Linked DNA regions of Homo sapiens: region 1 is linked to region 2. The links are contacts of gene promoters, found by promoter capture Hi-C in human tissues and cell types (Jung and others, 2019). All regions are on one chromosome and are shown on one strand. The core of a region is centred on a gene start or on the middle of the fragment in contact, and the rest is flanking DNA. Distances in the headings are between cores, read along the strand shown. Region 1 overlaps EYA4 (EYA transcriptional coactivator and phosphatase 4). Region 2 holds the start of RPS12 (ribosomal protein S12).

Region 1 (7,155 bases), core at 197-2,696, 640 kb before region 2:
AAAGCATGAAATAAACATTTGTCTCACAAATCATTCCCTCTGTCATTCTTCCAGTTTCTCAAATCATTAGCATGCTCTTATATATTAATATGCTATGAATAAATATCTTTGATTATAGGGTAATTAAGCTTTCAAAATATAAAAGTAAATTTTTAAAATTTGCAAACTTTACATTTTAAAATACCAAATATGATGGCAATATATACATATTGCTCTTCCTCCATATCTGTTCTAATTCAAATACAATACAAAATAAGACTGTGATGTTCCAAACTTCATTTTCTAATGGTAAAATACTATTTTATTCTATTTCCTCTCATTTTACCCATCAGATGAACAATTAAAAAATGCAGTCTAAAATATTCCAGTAATAATTAAAGAAAGTGCAGGTGATTTCTTTAAAACATAATCACAAAATGCAGTAGCAATTACATTTACAAATATACTTTGAACTATTAGAGATAATACTTTTCTGAGAAGAACTTAAAGGTGAAAGTGAGGTCCTATTAACAGTTCATCCAAACATGGAGCCCCAAACTGGAATATATCCAATAGCTTGGAAGTTTCTCTTTCCTTTAACTATCTGCCTTGACTAAGACAGATGTTTTGCAAATATATGGACTCTAAAGTGTGAGCCAGTTCCCTTAGAGCCAATCCACACTGAGCGAGCACACAGAGTGTCTTTATTAGGCCATCTGCTGTTCATTCACTTTTCAAAAAGATTAAAGTAGTACACAATGCAGTGCTGGAATTAGTTTAGTCTAATCAATCATAGTTATACTTCAAAGTACTATGTCCTTTCTGAGTTGTTCATAATAATTCTGGAGCGAAACTTTTAGAATTGTAAAAGTGACAAATAGGTTTAGGTTGCTAACTATTTTATGAAACATGATATATTTCTATATATATCACAAGAACCCTTGTGATCTGCTTCACAAACATGCATCATTTAATGTGTTTAAAATGCTATTTTGCCTATAAGCTCTGAATATGGAAAGAATATTTTCATTTTCATAGCGATAATGAAGTAAGTATATTTTTAAGAATATTATCAGTCAATTTTGAAAATCATCAAATTTGACTAAAGGTGTTACTTCTAAATATTTTCAGCAACCAGAATTTAACTGAATTTGATACGTATCGTTGAAAATAAATTGACCAATAAACTATTACTTTTCTACATATTTATCAAAACTTAAAGAACGTTTTAAATTTTCAAATCAACTTAATGAAAACAGACTCTTTGTTCTACTACACAATGGACATTAAATGTGCACTTCATAATAGTAGTGTTATTCCAAAGATATTCATTCTAATTTATCGATTAACAATACCAAATACTCTAACAGAAATATAGTTAAATGACGCTTGATTAAATATTCTTTCGTCTCTTCTTTACAGAATTTCTCCTTGGTACACTCAAGACTTGGGCTATACTCATCAGTTATTATCAATATTGTGAAATAGAAGGCTTTTCCAAAGAGACGCTGAATCATGAAGATAAATATTCATTATAGTAACCTTTTATAAATAAGACATAGACCAAAATTACACATTTCAGAAAAAACTCATATACATGAACTCAATTCTGAATATATAGGATGTTTCTTCTAATGATAAATCTAAACATCATTAGAATAATGTACTCACAACACTATAAAGCCTCAACTAACCTTTACAAATTTCTATTAACGTCTATATGTTCATTTTCTAAATAGAACAGAAAACCTTTGGCTCAGAAAACTACGATGTTCACGTAGGAAAGTTTATGCTTCTTTACTAAAATATATACATTTTGTTCTAATTCAGAAATTTGCAGATAACTGAAAAGAACAACAAAATTGGATTAAAGTGAGTGGAAATTTTGCAGATCAAAGTAAAGACTGCTCCCACAAAGGGCAGCCTCATTTCCAGAATGGTTTCTGGAATATCTTGTACAAACTTGAAAGAATTTCGTTTTATTCCCCACTGTCATCTGATTAATCATAAACATTACCCAAAACACTCATTACATTCCATCATTTCTGCATACAACAGTAAGCAAAACTGCTTGTTTTCAAAATGCCCTGAAAATTAATTTAAATACATGTTTAATATCTATTGTCAGTTTCTCTGATGGTGTCAAAGCAATTTTAAGGTTTCATTCTCATTATCGTGCCATCTTAGATTGGTGACTCTCAATGGGATGAGAAGTGGGTGGGGGTGAGAATTTTGCCTGCCAGGGGACACTTAAACAGTCTGGATACATTTTTGGTTGTCTTTAGTAAGACATCTTTGGTTGCTTCTTTAGTAAAGAAGCATCTGGGGGAGTGCTGCTGGCATTCTGGGATAGATGCAGCCAAACATCTTACAGTGCAGAGGATAGCTTTCCCACACTAAAGAATTAGCCCAAGTCTTTAACAGTGCTGATGTTGATAATCCCTGCCCTGGATCACTGCTGTGGAATAAAACTTTCCACAGTGTTGGAAATGTTCTGTATCTGAGCTGTCCAATATGGTAGCTGCTAACCACATGCAGCTGTTAAACACTTGAAATGTGTTTAAACTTGAAAATTCAGTTAAATTTTGGTTGCTGAAAATATTGAGAACTTAACGCCTCTAGTCGTACTTGATGATTTTCAAAATCAATTAATAAAAATATACTTACTGCAATATTGCTGTGAAAATGAAAATAAAAAACAAAATTTTTAATTTTATCAAATTTTAATAACCACATATGACTGGTGGCTACCTTACTGGACAGCACGTCCCTAGATACTTCTTTAAAAATTTGCGAAAATATCTACAAAGACAATATGAGTGAATTTCAGACAGGATGATTGTTCATGCCTATTTCTTTTTCCATCTATTTTCTGATGGGGCATTACAGAAAGGACCCAGGGACTGATCATAAGGACATGGTTTTAGATTTGTTTATACCACTGACCAGCTGTGAGGCCTTGACTGTATGGCCTTAACCACTTTTAACTTCTCTTGTCTACAAAACGGATCAGAGAGCTCTGAAATTCCTTCTGGAGCTAACACTTTATAGTTTTGTCATTCAGCTTTCAATTAACTTGTAGTATACTACTGAAGTAGGTCAGCAATAAGTTAATAACTCCATTCCTTTCCTTAACAATTTGTTCATATAGATTTATTTTGCAGAAAGTTTACAAAAGCTATGGTAAGTGTGCAATACAGAATACTGAACTGGTAACTATCTCCTGAGAGGCAGGTAAACTGCTAGAAAAGATGTGGATTAGTACATATGAGTCTCTGTGCAAAGTTTATGTACTATTATTTCTTTCTTGGAGTACTAATATTTATGTAAATATATGGCAACTGCTTCTAATCGGTGTGAACTAGTGAAATTAGATCATCTGTAAAAATCAAATATATGCTATAATGACATAATACTCTAAGACATATCTCAACTATTTTTACACAAAACATACTGACAAAAAAATCCTTATAACATGAGCACATGGATAAATGTAAAATGTATTAAAGTAGAATAACAGAACCGAGATTCAATTACCACAAATACTTTCCTAGGTTTAATGTTCTTCTTTCTGATGTACCCGATCCTCCTCAGGTTAGAAAAATCCTTTCACCAGATAAAAAGCCGAAGAAATATTGTAACTTAAAAAAATTTAATTAAGTCTACTTAATTCATGCCCTTTGTGCCCAGCTGGGAGTTATCAGGTATTTATATTTTAAAGGGATTGATGTTTAAAGACATGCTATTGTTCTCTTTGAAGCATTCGAGCGCTCTCAGAGGCTGGGTTCTAATGCAACCAGCATGTGCTCTCCTGCAGCCCATTAACCTTTAATACTTGTCACTCAGCTGCTTACACAGGAGGAGTTTTTTAAACCCAGAGAGGAAACAAGGTTATTTAGAAGGAATCAAATGGATAGTTTTACATCTCGAATGTTAAACAGAAGGCAGTTTTTATGTAATTCAAATGGGTAAGTTGAAGAAGCAAGGTCAGCTACTACAACTTAATTATTAAATTAATTAAACATCGTATAAAATAATTTTGAAGGAAGTTAAGTTTACTTATCCATAATAAGAAAGTCATGGGACTTTTGCTGTCAACTAAAATATCAAGCGAAATTATTCTAAATATAATTTATAACAATGCATACTGCTATGACTATGAGTTCTCAAAAAATAAGAATTTGTTTCTAACTTTATAAGGATCAAAGTTCTAAGAGCTTGGATGCTTATGTTGCTTATTCCCGAGGAGGAGGATGTGGATGCACCCCCATGTGTACGTAAGGACACACGAGCTAAAGGCTTTACCTGACCCAGTAAAAGTGTCAAGCGCTCCATCTCCAGTCGTGGCTGTGGTTTCACTGCTGTTCAAGGGCTCTGTTTTGACTGCAAGAAGAGACACTACGTAGAAGAATAAGTACATGTGAGTTTTACTTCTAAATTTATGTCAAAGACTCTGTCCGTTCTACTAGTGATATTTCTAGCTACCATGGGCATGCAAGAGAAAACCTGAGAAGTTGATGAAGAGAGTTTGTTAATTTAGCTTCTAAACGGGCATGCATTTAGAGGATTTAATCTAAAATCCTCTGGCCAAGCTAGTTCTCTCAAATCCAGCTTTTAAAGGCAGTCAGCCTTAAAAAGTGAAACAGCAGTACACATATTTGTATTTTTAATTCACCTAAACACACTCTCATATAGTCAATAGGAAAGAAGGAATCATCATCAGTCTTCAGCACATTTAATTAAAATTATACCAAAGAAATTTACTAGCTTATATTTTATTTTTCCCAGGAAGATATTTTTTAAGTTTGCATAATAATACAATGGAGACATATAAAAGTATAGAAACCATGGGCTCATTCACACAATGAATGAAAAATGAAGCACTCAATGAAGCTCTAAAAAAGACTCACGAGCTATAAGGTGTTGGGCTTCATACTTTAATGGCATAACAATTTTTAATATGTTTAGAGATAAGCGTAGAAAAAGAGATGACTTCTACAGCAGCAAGTACACCTTTTGAAAACTCATTTTAATATGTTATTTCTACGTGGTAATGGTGTATTTTGGCAAAATCTTTGCTTGGTAACAAAGTGGCCTAGTACACATTATTATCATTATTAGATGCAACAAGGGTGATGGGGCGTGAGAATAAAGTTTTACCCATTTGGTCACACCATATTTTCCCTTTGTTGGCAAGGCTTTACTACATATATCATAGCAGCAAGGAAATAAACTAAGCTATTTTCTACTTAACACCTCTTGTGTTTCCTGGTCATAAGTGAAATGAATGATACAGTTAAATAACTTAGAAGCAAGCAGAAAATTATAAAGAAGAAAGCTGAAGACTAGCCAAAGGACAAAAAAGAACAGTCAGTCATAGGGTACCCACCAATCACACAAGTCAGTAATGTTATTCTGTTAGAAAAGAAATTAATTGATAGAAAACCATGCGGTAATGATTATGCTCTTTTCCACATGAACAGAATTAACCAGACCTTCAGTGAGCTCTGGGTTAATTTAGTATCCATTATTTATTAATGACATGATCAGCTGGAAGATTCAGAGGAGAAATGTAAATGTTGGAAACAGAAAGTAAAGAAACTTGGATTACTTTTCTTAGCAAAAAAGCAAACTCAAGTTTGACTTATCTTTCAAGAGCAACAATGATCTGAAGAGTAGTCTAATTATTTATATAATGATAAATAATGAATTGGTGGTTATTACTTTTCAGTAGTAATTTGCACAGTAATCCCTATTATGGTTATACCTTATCAATAACTAAACCTATCATTATAAAATCATTTTATCACCTTTATATTTACTACTATAAAACTAATACTTATTGAGAGCTTGCTACGTGCTAGATGATGTACATTTAGCTAATCCTTAAAACAACTCTAATTAATACAAATCACTATAACCATTTTATAGACAAGGAAACTGAAGTTCAGGGGGGCTGAAAAGCCTGCATAAGTTCCAGTGCAGGAGACGGTAGAGCTAAGATTTGAACTCAGGTTTTTAGCTCTAGTATGCAGGATCTTTCCACCGTATCAGGCTGCCTTCAGGTACGAAAATAGCTTATGCTCATGACAGTGTCTCTTCTCAAAGGCCCAAAGCATGATGAGAATGCAATTATCTCCTAGATAGAATAATTAAAAATACTTCACTGAAAATAAAAACTGCAAAATACTGGAATAGGATACTAAGGCATGTTTCCCATTTCTTCCTCATGGGATATTTTAAAAGACATCAAGAAGTAGCAAATTTGAAATTAGGTAACAGTAACAGCACACCCTTAAAATGAACTTGATACATTCCAGGCACTTCTCTTGTCCTTTACACCTACTGATTTACTCCTCTCAACAGTCAGTAGATAATATCATCATCTTTATTTTTCAGATAAGGAAACTGAGGCACAAAAAGGTTAAATAACGTCCCCAGTCACAAAGCTTGTAAGAGCTAGAATTTGAGACCAAGTAGTGTGTGTTCAGAATCCAAACTCTTAAACCATACTGCCTCTCAGGCAGCACTAGCTAATCAAGAATTCCTTTTGTCTGTATGAAGATAATGCAGAGTATAATCTAGATGGGTATCAAGGCTACTCCATTTCACGCAATGTTTACAATTGAGTTCTAACATTTATGACAAAAAGTCATGGCCCAAAGCCTTCAGCAAAACTAAGAAACAGTTTATCAGAGCTTCTGACTTCTACTTGCAGCTAAATTCCTATTTATGCATATCTATATCTACGAACAATATTTGCAAAAGTAGCTTTATTATACTAATTGTAATATAGATTTTACTTGCGAATGGAGGTGGCAGAATGTGAGCTGTGTCTAACGAAACTGGTCTAGAAGCCAGACATGAAGATTAGTTTTGTTACTTTGAATTTCAACTTTGAGACCCAATTTCAAAAGCTTAGTATTGATTTTGATTATAATCTCTTCAATTTGAAAGTTTGGGGAGGTCAAAAGGAGAAAGAAGAAGGAGAGAGTGAGTTTTTGGTCTAATTCATTATACTGGAAACATCTCTCATTAAAATTTTAAAGGTTTGCTTTTAGTCAAAGATAGACAAAGGAAGTTCATTTTACTGAGAAAAGCCATCCCTGGGAAAGTATATGAAGAGAGGAGTAACAAGCAAGATGTGTTAGCTTTACTAAAATGCCTGAATTTTAA
Region 2 (6,935 bases), core at 3,427-5,926:
GGAGGACAACAGCCAGAAAACCGACAAAGTCTGAGGATGGAGACATTTTAATGACTTGGAGCAAACACAGAGCAACAGTAAGGGAAGATGCAGAGTTCAAGGTTAGATTTGGGGCCAGGTACAGTGGCTCATTCCTGTAATCCCAGCACTTTGGGAGGCCAATCCAACACCTGAGGTCAGGAGCTCCAGACCAGCCTGGCCAACATGGTGAAACCCCATCTCTGCTAAAAATACAAAAATTAGCTGGGCATGGTGGCATGCGCCTGTAATCCCAGCTACTCTGGAGGCAGAGGTTGCAATGAGTTGAAATCGTGCCACTGCACTCCAGCCTGGGTGACAGAGTGAAGACTGTCTCAAAAAACAAAACAAAAACAACAAAAAAACTTGGGAGATTAACATTCCTTCTGACTTTGGTGTTTTGCAGCTGAGATGACAGTGGACATGGAAACACCAAAACAAAACAAAAAAATCTGAGCCTGGACAATGTGGTGAAACCCCATCTCCACCAAAAAATATGCAACAGGCACTCAAAAATGTCTACATAGATTGGTCATACAAGGAAACTAGAATTCAAAGTGAACTTTCCTCAGAAAAGCCAGAGTACATGAGGTTGACAATTTCAATGTTAACACACAGTTCCAGGTTATACACACTTCAGAAAAAATCTCTCAGAGCTCCTTGCTTTCCATGAGGGTACTCAATGTCACTACCATGCTAAGGTCAACCAGCTTTAGCTATAACTACCAAACCAACCAGTACGGGAGACCCTACTCGGAGATTCTCAATCAAGGTTTAAGACGCAAAGAAAAACCTTGGTATAGTCTTCAAAACCAGGATTGGCCAAGTATATGGCCTCACAACATTCTTTTAACGGTACCTTTATCCAAGTTTAAAATACACCAAACACCAGCCATGGCTTCTCTCACTGCGATTTCTAGGGACTGGGGTGCATTCAAGCCCCTCTCGCTCCTGCACAAAAGGCCAGGAATGGTGGCTCACACTTGTAATCCCAGCACTTTGGAAGGCTGAAGCTGGTGGATCACCTGCTGTCTAAGTTCTAGACCATCCTGGCCAAATATGGTGAAACCCCATCTCTACTAAAAACACAAAAAAATTGCCAGGCATCTGTAATCCTAGCTGCTTGGGAGGCTGAGGCACGAGAATCGCTCGAACCCAGGACAAAGAGGTTGCAGTGAGCCAAGATTGCGCCATTGCACTCCAGCCTGGGCAACAAGAGTGAAACTCCGTCTCCAACCAAAGAAGTCAAACGAATGTCCACAAGCATTCCTGGGTATCATAACACTTGTCCCACATGCAAGATATGATCCTGGCCCAACTGTGTACTTTCTACTAACCTGCCCAGCAAGTCTACTCACTGTCCTTTCATAGACTGCAATCTATTAAAAACACAACCTCTCTCTCCAAATTCTAGGCTAGTCTAGTGAGGGATAAATGCCCATAGCTAAGTAATCCTGGCCATCACCAACACTGCATGGCAGACCTATCTTTGCTAAGGCTGTCCAGGTTTGAATTGCCCCATGATGCAGTCATTGGCTGGGGAGAAGACTTTGAGAGCAAGTTTCCAGTTAATCTGTAGCAATCACTTTGCGATGATTACATTTTACTTTGCTAACAGGGACCTTATTTTACTGCCCCAAATAAAAAGCCAGACATGAGGAATGTGAGCCAAAGATTTATTTCTTCATTTCTTGCATTTGAAATACTCTTCAATGACATCCTTGGCCTGAGACTCCTTGCCATAGTCCTTAAAAAAAACAAAACACGCATGCAATTTCTTGTTAATATTTAGGAATTTCACCAAGCTATTAGTATCAATTATAGTGGAGCTTCAACAATTAGCTATGTCTTATAAAAATGTTTCCCATCACTAAGATTTGTTATAGCCATTCTCAGGGACCTTAACGACTTCAATGTCCTTAAGGCTCGTAACATGGCTTTACTATTGCCAGTTTTTAAAGTATGTCTGCACAAACACAATCAGGTAAGCAGATTCATTGGCTGGCTTGTAAATTACAGCTTTTATTTTTTTCCTGAAATGCAGAAAATGCTTTAAACCTGTTGAATCAGTTTTTTCCTTTTATAAGATCCTCAACTTATTTCAATACAAGGTTTTATATGATTACCCAGCATAACCTTCATCCCTAGAATAAACGGTGACTTACCTTAACTACTACACAACTGCAACCAACCACTTTACGGGGTTTCCCCTCTCTGTCAATTTTACAAAGGCCTACCCATTCTCCTAGTTTCTTGTTGTCATCAACCTATTGGGAGAAAGGTTAAAAAAAAAAAAAATCACATTAATAGACATTAACACTACCAAAATTAAATGAAACCCAAAAGGTGGCTGTAATCAGAAGGGTGACATGGCAGTTTCCTCATGGCAGTTCAGTAGAGGGAGCCAGTTGTCATCATGTACAGCACTAAGATCACCTACAAGCCTGCTACTAATCTTTGTTGTATACCAACGTCAAAATTAGGATTCAATTCTGCAGGTATAAAATGCTTCTACCTACAATCATCTTTAAAATGGCCGACAGTATCAGGTGCACGTAATGTTTACACCTGCACAAAATGAACAGCTTGAGACTTCACAGAATTTACCCCCATATACAAGCATCACTGAACATTAGTCCCAACACAATCCTTAGCAGCCTTACCTTAATTAGGTTGATTTGGTGTTCAGCACAAAGGGCCTCCACCAACTTGACATACATAGGCTCATCACAGTTGGATGCAAGCACACAAAGATGGGCTTGGCGCCTGAAATTCAAATTACAATGAAAATGGAGCTAAAACTCAGATCCAAATCCATCATTCTTGCATTTTAGGAGGGTTATCTTTGCACTAACACTTGCGAAACATAAGCAGCCAATCCACTGAACACATAAATGCGTACAAAATTGCTTGAGTCTGAAGAACCTGCTAGGGAGCATATACATCTTCAATTAACCTACAACTGGTCTTCAGTAAAACCTCTGTCCCTGACACACTGAATTGGTGTAAGTCATTTTTAAAACTTCTGGCCAAAACCCAACCATAATAGCTTTCTTGTAAGCCAGCTTCATATACCTAAAGAAACATGTGAAAGGCCGGGCACGATGGCTCACTCCTGTAATCCCAGCACTTTGGGAAGACGAGGGGGGCAGATGACCCGAGGTCAGGAGTACCAGACCAGCCAGAGACCAACATGGCGAAACCCCGTTTCTACTGAAAGTACAAAAACTAGCTGGGCATGGTGGCGTGTGCCTGTAATTCCATCTACTCGGGAGGCAGAAGAATCGCTTGAACCTGGTAGGTAGAGGTTGCAATGAGATCGCGCCACTGCACTCCAGCCTGGGGGACAGAGCAAGACTCTTTGTCTCAAAAAAAAAAAAGAAAAAAGAAAAAAAAAAGACTGTGGCATTAATGGAACAGTTATGAAATGCCATGCAATAATGCCGAAATAGAAATACAGAAGACTCATACTAGGACCTACTAAATACATTAAACAATAATGCCGTTTCCATCGGATTGAACTGGCTAGATTACACCAAAACGAACTTGTCCTGTAAAACCTTAAAACTGCATTTAAATTCAGCTCAAGAGTAGGTTGATTTGTCAATGCCACCACCCTAAAAAACACATTAACTCGATCCATTCAAATACATTAACAAATATCCCAAATTCAAATAAATCACAGCTATTATACTACTAAATTCATCTAGGACCAAATGCTTCTGAAACCTGAGTTTGAAATTCCATTAAATTAATGCTTGTTTTGCAAACTACCAGATGTAATGTGGCTCTCCATCTCATCTATCTGCCAGATAAGTATAAGACTGACTAGCTCCACAACCTACAGGTTTGTCAGACTCTTATGTTTCACTCATAAAAGGAGTGAAGGGGTATCCGACAATTAAAGTCATCATTCAAACACTGTAGTTTTGAGTGCTTATCCCCATTCCAAACAGCAACCCACACATTTTAAGTGGGCTTTATAGATCTGAGTTCTGATACCTTTTCCTAGGTTTCCGGTAGGACGGATGCCATTCAGAACTTTTGCGCTAACACCATGAACTCCATGCCTTCTTCCCTTGGGTGGCAGTTTTGTTCCGGTTGCAAGAACCCACAGTATTGAGACTGATACACGTACTTGTCTAAGGCTTTGGCAGCTTCGCGAATTCCACGTGCTAGGCCATCGTGGATGAGGGCAGTCTTCAGAACCTCTTGTAAAGCAGTATTAACGTCCATTACACCTCCAGCAGCAATGCTTAAACGCGACACATCAGAACCATCAGTTAAAATCCTCACACCACATAAGGCCTTGCACTCAGCAAAAGCTAAGTGTACAACAGACGCGCTTACGGCGACCCGTTTGACCCAGTCCTGTTCCGCCAGCTCTAGCCCCACGCCTCAGCCGCACCCCGACCCCAACTCCAACCCCGGCCCCTGGGCTCACCCTTCCTCGGCCATGGCGGTGGGTTACGGGTGAAGTTGAATCTTGAACGCACTAAAAAACAAAAGCATTGACTTGTTAAAGAACCAGATACTCGTCACGAATCCCAGCAAGAACGCAACGAGCCACAAATTATAACCAATACACCCCCCTGCCGCCTCGCTCAACTTACCCCAAGCCTCCGCCTCCGCGCGACTCGGCGGCGGCAGGGAAAGAGGCCTCATCCGCACGCATGCCGGTATTTAAGGGTTTTTCAGGTCCCCTGTGCGCATGTGCACTCCCACCCTCGAAAGAGGTGGCTCCCGCAGTGCCGGGCCTGGGGAGTTTCTGTTTCCGGATTGAGGCGGTTCTGAGGCAAACGTACTGCGAGTTTTCTATCTCTGCCAGGCCGGTCCTTGGCGAGTGCAACAGGCACTACGCGGGCAGCTTCGCGTTGTCCTTCTTTGCGGAGGCGTGGCCCACCGAGGCCCAGGGAACTCATTCTACGGAGCGCGACAGAAGCCAAACAAGTGTGTCCGCGTGTTCTTTAAGGCACCTAGAGCCCTGTATCCCGCCGAGCGCCAGTTTTAACCCTTTCCACACCACGTTCTACTTTCCTGTTGCTTCTACAAGACCCAGCCTCCCCAGGCAGCGCACTTTGTTCCTTCGCTTCTAAGTCACCCTGAGAGACCATGTTTGTGTCGTTGTGGGTGTGATCCTCATCTTTGTCTTCATGAAACGAGAGCCTACATGCTTTCACTCTTCCAGGCTGGAGTGCAATGGCGCGATCTCAGCTTACTGCGACCTCCGGCTCCCGGTTTCAAGCGATTCTCCTGCCTCAGCCTCCCGAGTAGCCGGGATTGCAGGCGCCTGCCACCACCCTGGCTAATTTTTTGTATTTTTAGTAAAGACGGGATTTCACCATGTTGGCCAGGCTGGTCTCGAACTCCTGACCTCAGGGGATCCACCCGCCTCGGCCTCCCAAAATGCTGGGATTAGAGGCGTGACCCGCCGCCCCCGGCCGCTTTCACTATTTCTAAGCCCTTTCCCTGCGGTGTGTTGGTAAAGCGGAACCCTGCAGCCAGGGGTCAATTCTAGTTTCTAAGTATAGCGGGAGTCGCTTCTGAACGAAGTTTGTTCTGCTTTGTTTGGTTTTTAACGACGCGTTGTGCTCGGAATACACAGTTCCGCGCAACTCAGAATTCCTCAGGTGCATTTTCAACACCTACAATGTGCCTGACGCAGGGCCAGGTCCTGGGACTACAGACATGAAATATCCAGTCTTTGAGGAGTCCATTTTCTTCCAGGAAGCAATATTTTAAATTTGGAAGTGATTGGCCATTCCCCAATCCCCACTTCCAAACCAAACGCACGAAACACTACTGAATATGATCAATACTGCCTTTGTGTTTAATTTCCTCTCCTGGGTAGTCAGCCGCCAAACCAGTGAGCAATTATTAGGCGCTTGGCACGTGCCAGCGCTGTGAATCCAGTGGGCAGATACTGTTAGACTGGTGAGTGCAGCGAAAAAAACAAAAATGGGTAACGCAGTAAGAGCACCAGGGAGTTCACCAGAACAGAGACCTGCTGTAATGTTAATAAACTGATAGAGTTCAGTTTACTGATAGAGTTCAGTTTTAGATTTTCCGCTGGTTTCAGTTTCATTTTTAAAGCGTTGAAGCTGCTTCTCTGTCAGTAACTCATGCAAATGTTTATTGAGCTTTTGATTTAAAAAAAAAAAAAAAACGAGGAATTTATAAAGATGATTCATTCCTGTAGCCCTGGTTTGTTTGTGGTGGGATTAAGATTTTAGACAAAAATCAGAATACCTCAGGGCCACAGAGGAGATACAAAGTGGCAGGGGGTTAGGGAGTGGGGATGGTGTGAAAAGGTAAGAGGACCTCAGGCTTCTGGCAGCATTCGAAACAGGCTCAAAACAAAAACTAAGAGATTCCAAATCGGTGAGCATGGAAGGAGAGGAGGGTATTCTAAATGGATGAAAGTGTAGGGGCAAAGGCATGAAATCCTTCTTGCCTTTTTTGGAGGTTATAATTAACACGTTTGTATTTTTGAAAGAGAATGTGGCAAATAGTCTTTCAGCGCATTTCTCATTATCTAAAGACAGTACAGTTGATATGCTAAGCATATTAGATTCCTTCCCCAAACAAATTTTTAAGGAAGAAGCAGGGAATTTGGGAAACCTAAGTGAAAACATTCACTGCCAAACAGCATATTTATGTGGGGGGAAAATGATCAAGTGCCTTGTTAGCTAAGGCAGTTGTTCCCAGTACCAACCAGCTCAGACTTGGTTTCTATCTTTCAGCAGCTGCTAATCTGTTCTATTGACTCAGACATCGTGGATCTCTGCTTTAATGTTTCACTGCACTAAAATGTCTTTTCACACAAACCTCCCTCCTTAGAGGGAGCTACATTTTTTTTTAAGTCCTACTTATATAACCTACTTATATAACTTATATAACCTACTTATATAAGTCCT

What was found. Contacts are between HindIII fragments. The study calls those that stand out against the background at their distance.
Region 1: a contact is called between a fragment that was not itself captured here and the fragment with the promoter of RPS12 in region 2, in 1 of the 25 tissues and cell types used here (dorsolateral prefrontal cortex).

The regions. Positions count from the first base shown.
Region 1 is chr6:133,453,778-133,460,932 of GRCh38, reverse strand. EYA4 (EYA transcriptional coactivator and phosphatase 4) reads right to left here. Exons shown (of 20, transcript NM_004100.5): 6 at 4,285-4,377. It overlaps EYA4-AS2 (EYA4 antisense RNA 2), which reads left to right and starts at 4,328. Exons shown (of 3, transcript NR_199014.1): 1 at 4,328-4,399. The HindIII fragment of the contact is 3,665 bases long and covers 1-3,278 here.
Region 2 is chr6:132,812,310-132,819,244 of GRCh38, reverse strand. It overlaps RPS12 (ribosomal protein S12), which reads right to left and starts at 4,676. Exons shown (of 6, transcript NM_001016.4): 1 at 4,632-4,676; 2 at 4,463-4,513; 3 at 4,157-4,273; 4 at 2,682-2,784; 5 at 2,184-2,285; 6 at 1,681-1,765. The coding sequence starts at 4,476. The coding sequence ends at 1,703. SNORD101 (small nucleolar RNA, C/D box 101) reads right to left here and starts at 3,938; the gene lies at 3,866-3,938. It overlaps LOC107986644 (a long non-coding RNA gene), which reads left to right and starts at 4,957. Exons shown (of 3, transcript XR_001744345.3): 1 at 4,957-5,952. It overlaps SNORD100 (small nucleolar RNA, C/D box 100), which reads right to left and starts at 2,443; the gene lies at 2,368-2,443. It also overlaps SNORA33. RefSeq lists enhancers at 4,211-4,340, 4,771-5,050, 4,965-5,711, 6,141-6,210. The HindIII fragment of the contact is 14,605 bases long and covers 1-6,935 here.